Linked DNA regions of Homo sapiens: region 1 is linked to region 2. Evidence: promoter capture Hi-C in 16 types of primary human blood cells and fetal thymus (Javierre and others, 2016). All regions are on one chromosome and are shown on one strand. The core of a region is centred on a gene start or on the middle of the fragment in contact, and the rest is flanking DNA. Distances in the headings are between cores, read along the strand shown.

Region 1 (3,949 bases), core at 582-3,081, 150 kb after region 2:
GCGGGAGTCCAGGAAGCCTTCCTGGAGGAGGTGCGATTTGCTCTGGCCCTTGGAGGATAATGGCTCATTCCAATGGCATTATCCTCCATTTTGGAAATGGGGAAAGGACAGGAATGGGTGGCAAGAAAGAGGAAGGGCCTGCCAAGTGAAGGGGACAACTCTAGCAGACTGTGACAGGTGAGATGCAGTGAGGCTGTGGGAGGGCTGGAGGCCAGCCTGTCAGCAGAAGCAATGCCTTTCTTGAGGAGTGAGTAGCAAGGTGAGATTAAGAGACAGGATTTGCAGCTCAAGATGAGAACTTTGGCTTTTAAAAGTGAGACAATCGGGGAAGGATGAGGTCCAACTGGTATTTTAAGAATAATAGCAAACACTTTCACAGTACAGAGCCTGTACCAGGCACTGTCCTAGTGCTCTTCAGGTATTAATGCATGTGACATGTTAGCTCACAACAGCCCTGTGAGGCAGAACTAGTGTTAGCCTCATTCTATGGATGACGAAGCTGTGCATCATGAGGCAGAAAGGCCAAGTCACTTACCCAACTTGCCCACAGCTTGCACGGGACAGAGCCAGAATTCAAACCCAGGGGGCTAGGCTCCAGAGTCCAGGGCCGTTGCTGCAGCAGTTCTGCTGGAAAAAAAGAGAGATGGACATGATGAAGCAGAGAAGCTTTTAATGAATTGATGCTGCTTATCAAACTGAACCCCCTGACCAATTCCCTCTGCCTTAGGGGAGTGGTGAGTGGGCTGAGGAGCCCCAAGGAGCCTGAGGAAATAGCCTGGCTGTCTCTGTGGGTCTGGTAAGATGGATAATTGCTACCTCTGCAAATGGACCACAGGTAGAGGCCAGGCTCTGAACCCTCCCAGCGAGGAGGATGCACAGGGTCAGCCGGGAATTTCAGTGACTCAGAAAAAAACAGCTAGGCCAGCAGCACAGCCTTCTTCTACGTTCCCAAGGGAGGCCACTAGGTGAAGTGAACCTCCTCAGCAGCAAGAGAGAATGAAGGTAGCCTTAAGGAGGATCTCCCAGGGAGGACTCATCGCGGGAGAAGGTTCCTGAGGAATGGGGAGAAGAGTAAACTTGACAAGTGGCTACTCATCCATCTCAAGTGGGTGGAGGAGCTAGAGTTGCCAAGACAGGGCTGGACCTGGGCACTCCCCAGGGCATTCAGTCAGTGACAGGCAGAGTTGCCCCCAAAGGCCTGATGCCAAGATCTCTTCCAAAATCCACAAGCCCGACTAAAGCATTTTTTCCTGCCTTTTCCATCAGATACGAAGAGGAGCTCTCCCTGCGTCCCTGTGTTGAGAATGAGTTTGTTGCCTTGAAGAAGGTAAGGAGGAAGCTCAGAGAGGCAGAGCCCCTGAGCTGGCCTGCGTTGCCCCAGGCCACCTAGCCCTGAACTCAGTCCAAACGTGTCTGCAGCCCACCCACTCTGAAAAAGGGTTTTTCGCCCCTCAGACTCCTGTGCCAGCCCCACTAACTCTGAGAATGAGGAAGGCCGGCCTCCTCTCCCCCAACTTTGTCCCCTTGCAAAAGGCCAGCCATTGGCCTGGCCTCCACTTCCCCACTCATGCAGGCCGAAGCTGGGTTAAAGTCATGTCTAACCCTGCCCGAGCAGCTGGAGATGGGACAGATGCCAACGCCAAACCAAAACAAAAGCTCAAAAGCTCTGCCGCAAGCCCCCAAATACAATTGCGATGGTTCCTCAGACAGGTAGCCAGGTATTTCCAGGCCCAGGCTCTGCAAAGTGGGCTCTGAGATGCTGCTGCTAAGGCTCATTTAAGCCCCACCCCCTTCAGATCCTTTCCCATCAGGAAGCCAGGCCCAGGCCTGGGGTCCCAGGGCTAGGGACCCCTTTTTCCCCACCTCGGCTCCATCACCCCTTCGATGCCCATGGGTGTTCGTGAGGAAAGGTGAGCCCCACGCCTTCCCCCTGCCACCAGCTTGCCTGGGAGGTGGCCCAGCCAGGTCACATTCTGTCCCTGCTCTGCTGCAGGACGTGGACACAGCCTTCCTGATGAAGGCTGACCTGGAGACCAACGCAGAGGCACTCGTGCAGGAGATCGACTTCCTGAAAAGCCTGTATGAGGAGGTACCCACAGCCCTGACCTTGGGTGGTTAGTCAGGGCTGGAGCCAAGGGATCGAGAGGGCAGCAGAGTGGCCGCCCAGTGGGTACATTTCAGGGCAAGCATGGAAAGAGGTCCGCACTGTAGAGACGTTCTCAGGCGGTGAGACTCACAGAAGTTGGATCATCCAGGCCATGGCTCACAGGCCCCTCTGGGAAAGTCTCCACCAAGCTCTGGGCAACCAGAGGGTGGGGACAAGGAGTCAGTTGGTGACTGAAGCCCAGAACAGCCATAGCAGAGTTCTATGCACTCTGCTCTGGGAAGGTCAGAACGGGTTCTCCCCTTCTCCTGTCCCCGGACGCTCAGAGAGCTCACTCCTTCTCACATGGGCCCTGCCCCCAGGAGATCTGCCTGCTCCAGTCTCAGATCTCTGAGACCTCGGTCATTGTGAAGATGGACAACAGCCGGGAGCTGGACGTGGACGGCATCATCGCTGAGATCAAGGCGCAGTATGACGACATCGCCAGCCGCAGCAAAGCCGAAGCAGAGGCCTGGTACCAGTGCCGGGTGAGGCCCTGTGGTTGGGGGCAGGGAGACTGGAGAGGTGACAAACCAGGGGAGGGGAGGACCCCCAGACTCCTTCTCCGCAGAAGTGGGTGAGGAGCTAATGAGAGCCACGCCATGCCACAGACACAGGGAATCCCATAAAGCCCAGCTGCTGTTGTTTCTGCCAGGCCCCAGGCCACTTCCCTGCAGAGCACGTGGGAGGGACCCCTCCCCGCCCCGGACAATCCAGGCCTGTCATCAGGGTGCCAGGGCGCCCAGCAGTTTTTACCTGCAGACTCACTGGAAGTGCTCCTGTAGGCAGCGTTCAGTAAACACTAATTGGTTTTACTGAACTGTAATGATGGCAAAGAGGGCTCTAAGCTTCGAGGCGTGGGAGGAGGCTAGTGGCATGGGGTGGCTACTAATGGTAGAGCAGAAACAGTGATTAAGATGGCCTCAGACTTAATAATTAGGGGCTTGCTTGGAGGGCAGGGGGGCCCTAAGGGTAATTAGATTTAACAAATATCATCATCTCAGCCTCTCCTGCCCTGCCTGTGAAAGGCGCCATGCATGCATGCACTCATTGGTCCACTCATTCAACACTGTGTATTCAGCATCAACCACGTGCCAAGCACAGTTCTAGAAGCTGGAGACACAGCAGGGAACAGAACAGACACTAGTCCCTGCCTTCATGTCGCTTTCATTCCAGAGACAAGCTGGGTTCCAGGGTAGGGTTGGAGGGGCAGGGTGATGGATGATAAACAAGGCACATAAGTGCAGTGGATGTATGTTAGACTGTGATACCAAGTGCTAGGAAGCAAATAAACCAGGGGAAGGGTAGGGAGTGTTGGAGTGCAGTTTCAATTAGGGTGGCCAGCAAGGATGTGCTTCCCAAACCAAAACACCAGCTAGCAGGAAGTGATTGCAAAGGTGGAGCAGCAGGTAAAGGGAGTTTGATGACAGAGGGAACAAATTGTGTCACAAAGGCAAAGGTGTTGTCATTTGATCTAATCTTGAAGGACAAATAAGATTCAAAGGGGAGATGGGGGGAGGGTGTGCCAGGCTGAGCAGCAGGTGCTAGGACACAGCAGCAGAAATTGAGGGGCCTGGAGTGCCATGTGCTGTGGAGATCGGGCTGGAGGGGTAGCTTGAGGCCAGGTCACAGCATCTGCAGGGCTGTGCTAAGTCATTTGGCTTTGTTCTGAAGGCAGTGGGTGCCACTGCCCAGGGAGTGCCCAAAGTGATGCTCTGCCCATTTTCTGGAGCTCCATGGTGGTTGGAAGTATGAAAACTTGAAATGGAGTCAGCTCCTGGTGAACCTGTCTGTGACCCACCCACG
Region 2 (4,197 bases), core at 889-3,388:
CATTCTTCAGGCCCCTCAGGAAGAAATTTAGAACAAAGAGTGGTGGTCAGAGCTCAGTGCCCAGTGTCCCTTCATCTGAGGTCTATGTGCCCAGGCATCCCTTTTGGTGGGGTTTGGGTTTCTGACAAACAACTCTGGGACATATGTTAAGGTGCTATCTTTAGTTTCTATGGCGGAACCAAACATCCCACGATTCCAGCTTTCGTGGCTGTTGTTTTGGGCTACTGTTATCTTCTTGCTTGTCAGGTTGCTTATTTATTTCTCCAGGCTAGCAAGGTGCCCAGAATTTCCCTTGAAGGAACTCAAGATTGTCCTTTATTTCCATGCTTGAGGGGACCTGAAGGCCCCTACGAGGGCGTCCCTGCTCCATCTCAGAGTGCACTAGGTGGTCTCTAATCTGGAGAAGACTCTGCTAGCCTTACAAAGAAAAACTAAGATGACATGTGACATGGCTTCAGAGGATCCCCATGGGAGCTGTCACAGAGTTGCAGCCCCACCAGCACATGCTAAGGATGTGTTCAGAGCGGAGGGAGGTAAGGAGAGCTCAGACCTGGCCTGTGTGGGTGCAGGAAGACCTCCTGGAGGAGAGCAGGATGGGGAAGTGACAGAACAAGAGATGGCGAAAGGCTGAGAGGGAAGGATGGAGGGAAGATGGATGGGAGGGATGAGGAGGGATGGAGAGAGAAGGTGAGAAAGAGAGAAGGCAGGGATAGGAAAATTCGGGTAGTTTCAGTAAGAGCAAAGAAGACAAAATGGCAGGGGCAAGAGTAGAGGAAGGAATGCAGAGGATTGGGAGGGACTGGAGTCCAGGCTCTTCCCCTAAACAATATGAGAGAGAGCCCCAAACCAGCCTGTCTCCAGATTTTCTTCCCTCCTGTGCCCCACCCAGCAAAGAGCTGCTGTTCACCCATGGGGCTCCAGCAGGGATCTCTGGGCAAGGGTGATCTTCAGGGACAGAGCTGCCTTGGGTTGAATAGGGCCACAGTGGCAATGGCGATCATGGGAGTAGCTGGGGCCCAACACAGGAGCCAGTGGCTAGGAAGCAGGGGCTGCAGCCAGAGTCTCTGGGGCTGGCATCAAAGGACTGTTTGGAGTAGAATGACATCGTGCTTACTGGGTCGCCCCCATTGGGTCTTTCTGGTCTGAGCCTGCCTGGAGGCTTGCACTCCTGGGGAGGGCTCAGCCAGCCTTGTTCTTGGCTCACTTGGGCCTGGACAGAGGCAATAGGAGTTAAGTTTCATGTTGATAACAGCTTCTTTATTTGAACTCTAAACAGATGATTACTGTCCTCAAGTTGTTCCTAGTCTTATTAGCAGATACACATTGGAGGAGAGACAGAAATGAGGAAGTGGACCACCCAGGAATCTCCATAACCCTCCAGGCCATGGGCCAGCCTCTGTCTTTGTCTTCTCTGTACCTCCTTCCAGTCAAGTCCCTGAATTTCTCAGCCACCTGCCCCAACTCCATCCTCCTTTTCTCGTCCTCATTTTCTCCAGTGTTTGAAGCCTCCAGCCTGCTTTATTATGGGTGTTTGAGGGGGGAGAAGTGAGGATAGTGCCCGTGGTTGGCTCTGGCCTGGGCTGCTTCTGTCCCATGCTAGCGAGAGGGTCACTCCACCTCCTAATACCCCATGAGTGAGAGCAGCTGCCCTCTATGGGTTATGTTTCCAGGAGGCCTGGGGAGAGGTAATGCCTGATCAGTCCCTTTCCAGGAAGGAGGAGAACAGAAGTTGGAGGCCCCAGTACTCTACCCAGTGTCCTGAACTATCCAGGAAAGTCCATCCTGTCTTCACCTGCTGCATCCCCAGGAGGAAGCCAACAACCCAGAGAAGATTAATCAGGATAGGGATGGTGCAGTGCCAGTGACATCCCCCTGGAGAGGCCAGGGCCTGGGGCAAATTACCCTATAACAGCAGGTTAATTAGATAAGACCCAAATTACATGAGCAAAGCTTGCAAGCCCAGCAATTTGAAGGTTTCATGTTGTTTCAGAGGTGGAGAGGGCTTGATCTCTAGCTCAGCATAGAGAAAATGACTTCTTGCTCCCAGGCAAGCCAAACCCACGAATTAAGCTCTTGACTGCCCATCCACAAGCCCCAGTGCCAAGCACATATAAAGGCACCTGCCAGTCCTCACTACAACCAGCAGAACCTTTTGGGATTTTGCCTTCCTCCCTCCTGCATCTGAGCTTTGTCTCCACCAGCAACATGAGCCGCCAATTCACCTGCAAGTCGGGAGCTGCCGCCAAGGGGGGCTTCAGTGGCTGCTCAGCTGTGCTCTCAGGGGGCAGCTCATCCTCCTTCCGGGCAGGGAGCAAAGGGCTCAGTGGGGGCTTTGGCAGCCGGAGCCTCTACAGCCTGGGGGGTGTCCGGAGCCTCAATGTGGCCAGTGGCAGCGGGAAGAGTGGAGGCTATGGATTTGGCCGGGGCCGGGCCAGTGGCTTTGCTGGAAGCATGTTTGGCAGTGTGGCCCTGGGGCCTGTGTGCCCAACTGTATGCCCACCTGGAGGCATCCACCAGGTTACCGTCAATGAGAGCCTCCTGGCCCCCCTCAACGTGGAGCTGGACCCCGAGATCCAGAAAGTGCGTGCCCAGGAGCGAGAGCAGATCAAGGCTCTGAACAACAAGTTCGCCTCCTTCATCGACAAGGTGGGTCTTCTAGGGCCTGGGGAACTTGTGAACAGCCCTCCTCTTCTCTTCTTGGAACATACGATTTTGTTACAGCAGGAGAGATTGAGGTTAGATGTGAGGAAGACTTTACTGTGGACAAGGTAGGTACATCCCATCAACAGGGTGACCTGTGTAAGGTTCTCTGTGTTGTCTTTCCAGAGAGAAAACAGAGGCAGGTCAATTTCTACTGGCAGAGGCTTCTCAGGGCTCCCAGCAAGAGATGTGGTCCTTCCTCTTGAGGGCTAGCTTGGTGCCATTGCTAGGCCTGCAGGCCGTGTGCAGAAAAGGCCTGTGAGAGCCAGTCTCGCCCAGAGTAAGCAGGGAAGCTGTCCTCCTCCCCTGGCATGCTGCCCTGCCCACTGGTCACTTGCCCAGCGGATCAGGAGCAGCAGGAAGGGGCCGCTTCAGGCCCTCTGATTGGGCATTTGCTCCAGTCAGTTGAAGACTTTCTTGAGAGGCAGAAGAGGGCACTGGGGAAGGGGACTCCACGGTGCTCTTGTGCTCACTGCTGGCCACAGCTGAGTGGCTCTGGGAAGGTGATCTGCCTGTCTGTGTTGCCATCTCCTCATCTCTAAAATGGAGATAATAACTTCTGTCTTGGGGTTGTTGTCAGGCTTATAAAAGAAAATGCAGGTGAAGATCTTGTCACAAGCCTGACGCACACTAAATACTCCAAAAATGATTGTGATTGTGACTCTCATTTCTTATCTCTGGAATGTGGGGGAGGGAAGCTCAGGGGAGGAATCAAAGGTGTCTAGAGACCTGAAGAGATGACACAGTCCAGATAGGCCCCTGACTTCTGGCAGAGAAGAAATGATTATCCCTATCGTATGAGTCACTGAAGGCATGGAGGTAAATGGCATTCCCAGGGTCATTTGGGGAAAGGGAAGGGTGAGGCTGGACCCTCAGCCTTTTGCCTCCAGACCCAGAGGAGGAGACTGGAGGGTTCTGTTGGCTCTGTGGCAGTCAGGCACCAAGGACGGGTCAACCCAGGACAAAGTCTATGGGTGAGACGGTCATGTGGCCATCAGAGCTTAGCCAGCTCCTGCAGCTCAGACTTCCTGCCTGGAGGAGTCCCTGCTGCCCTCGGCTCAGCCTCAGGGGCTAGGACTGGCTCTGCGGCTTCTTATTCTTCTAAGCCTTTTCATATCTGCAAGATCAAAGTGTTCTGAGATGGGGTCTGGGTGATGGGAGTGGACTGATTGATTCTTGGCTCGGCTGGTCAAAACCTACAGAAGGATAAAGTCTGGAGACATGGGAAGAAAGATGAACATGAGGAGGGTCACATCCTGTTTATAAAGATGGTCTGCCCAGAGGGAGGGGAAGGAGGCTGAAAGGCTTGGACAGTTCCCAAATAATTTCAGTCTCCAGAGATCAGTCCCTTAACCTCAGGCAGCCAGAGAAGACGGGTAAATCCTTTCGGCATCCAGATGTGTTCAGTAGTGCAGGTGTGTATTGTGGTGTCTCAGATGCAGGATTTACTCTGTGGTTAATGCTCAGCCTCGTAGATCACATGAAAAATTCAGGATT

The links. Contacts are between HindIII fragments. The CHiCAGO score rates a contact against its expected background, and 5 or more counts as called.
Region 1: a contact is called between a fragment that was not itself captured here and the fragment with the promoter of KRT71 in region 2, in 2 of 17 cell types (M1 macrophages and M2 macrophages). The highest score is 5.2, in M1 macrophages.

The regions. Positions count from the first base shown.
Region 1 is chr12:52,398,667-52,402,615 of GRCh38, reverse strand. It overlaps KRT82 (keratin 82), which reads left to right. Exons shown (of 9, transcript NM_033033.4): 3 at 1,267-1,327; 4 at 1,994-2,089; 5 at 2,467-2,631. Among named protein-coding and RNA genes, the nearest start is that of KRT82, 5.7 kb to the left of the region's middle. The HindIII fragment of the contact is 2,325 bases long and covers 669-2,993 here.
Region 2 is chr12:52,551,086-52,555,282 of GRCh38, reverse strand. KRT71 (keratin 71) reads left to right here and starts at 2,138. Exons shown (of 9, transcript NM_033448.3): 1 at 2,138-2,646. The coding sequence starts at 2,206. The HindIII fragment of the contact is 3,012 bases long and covers 1,953-4,197 here.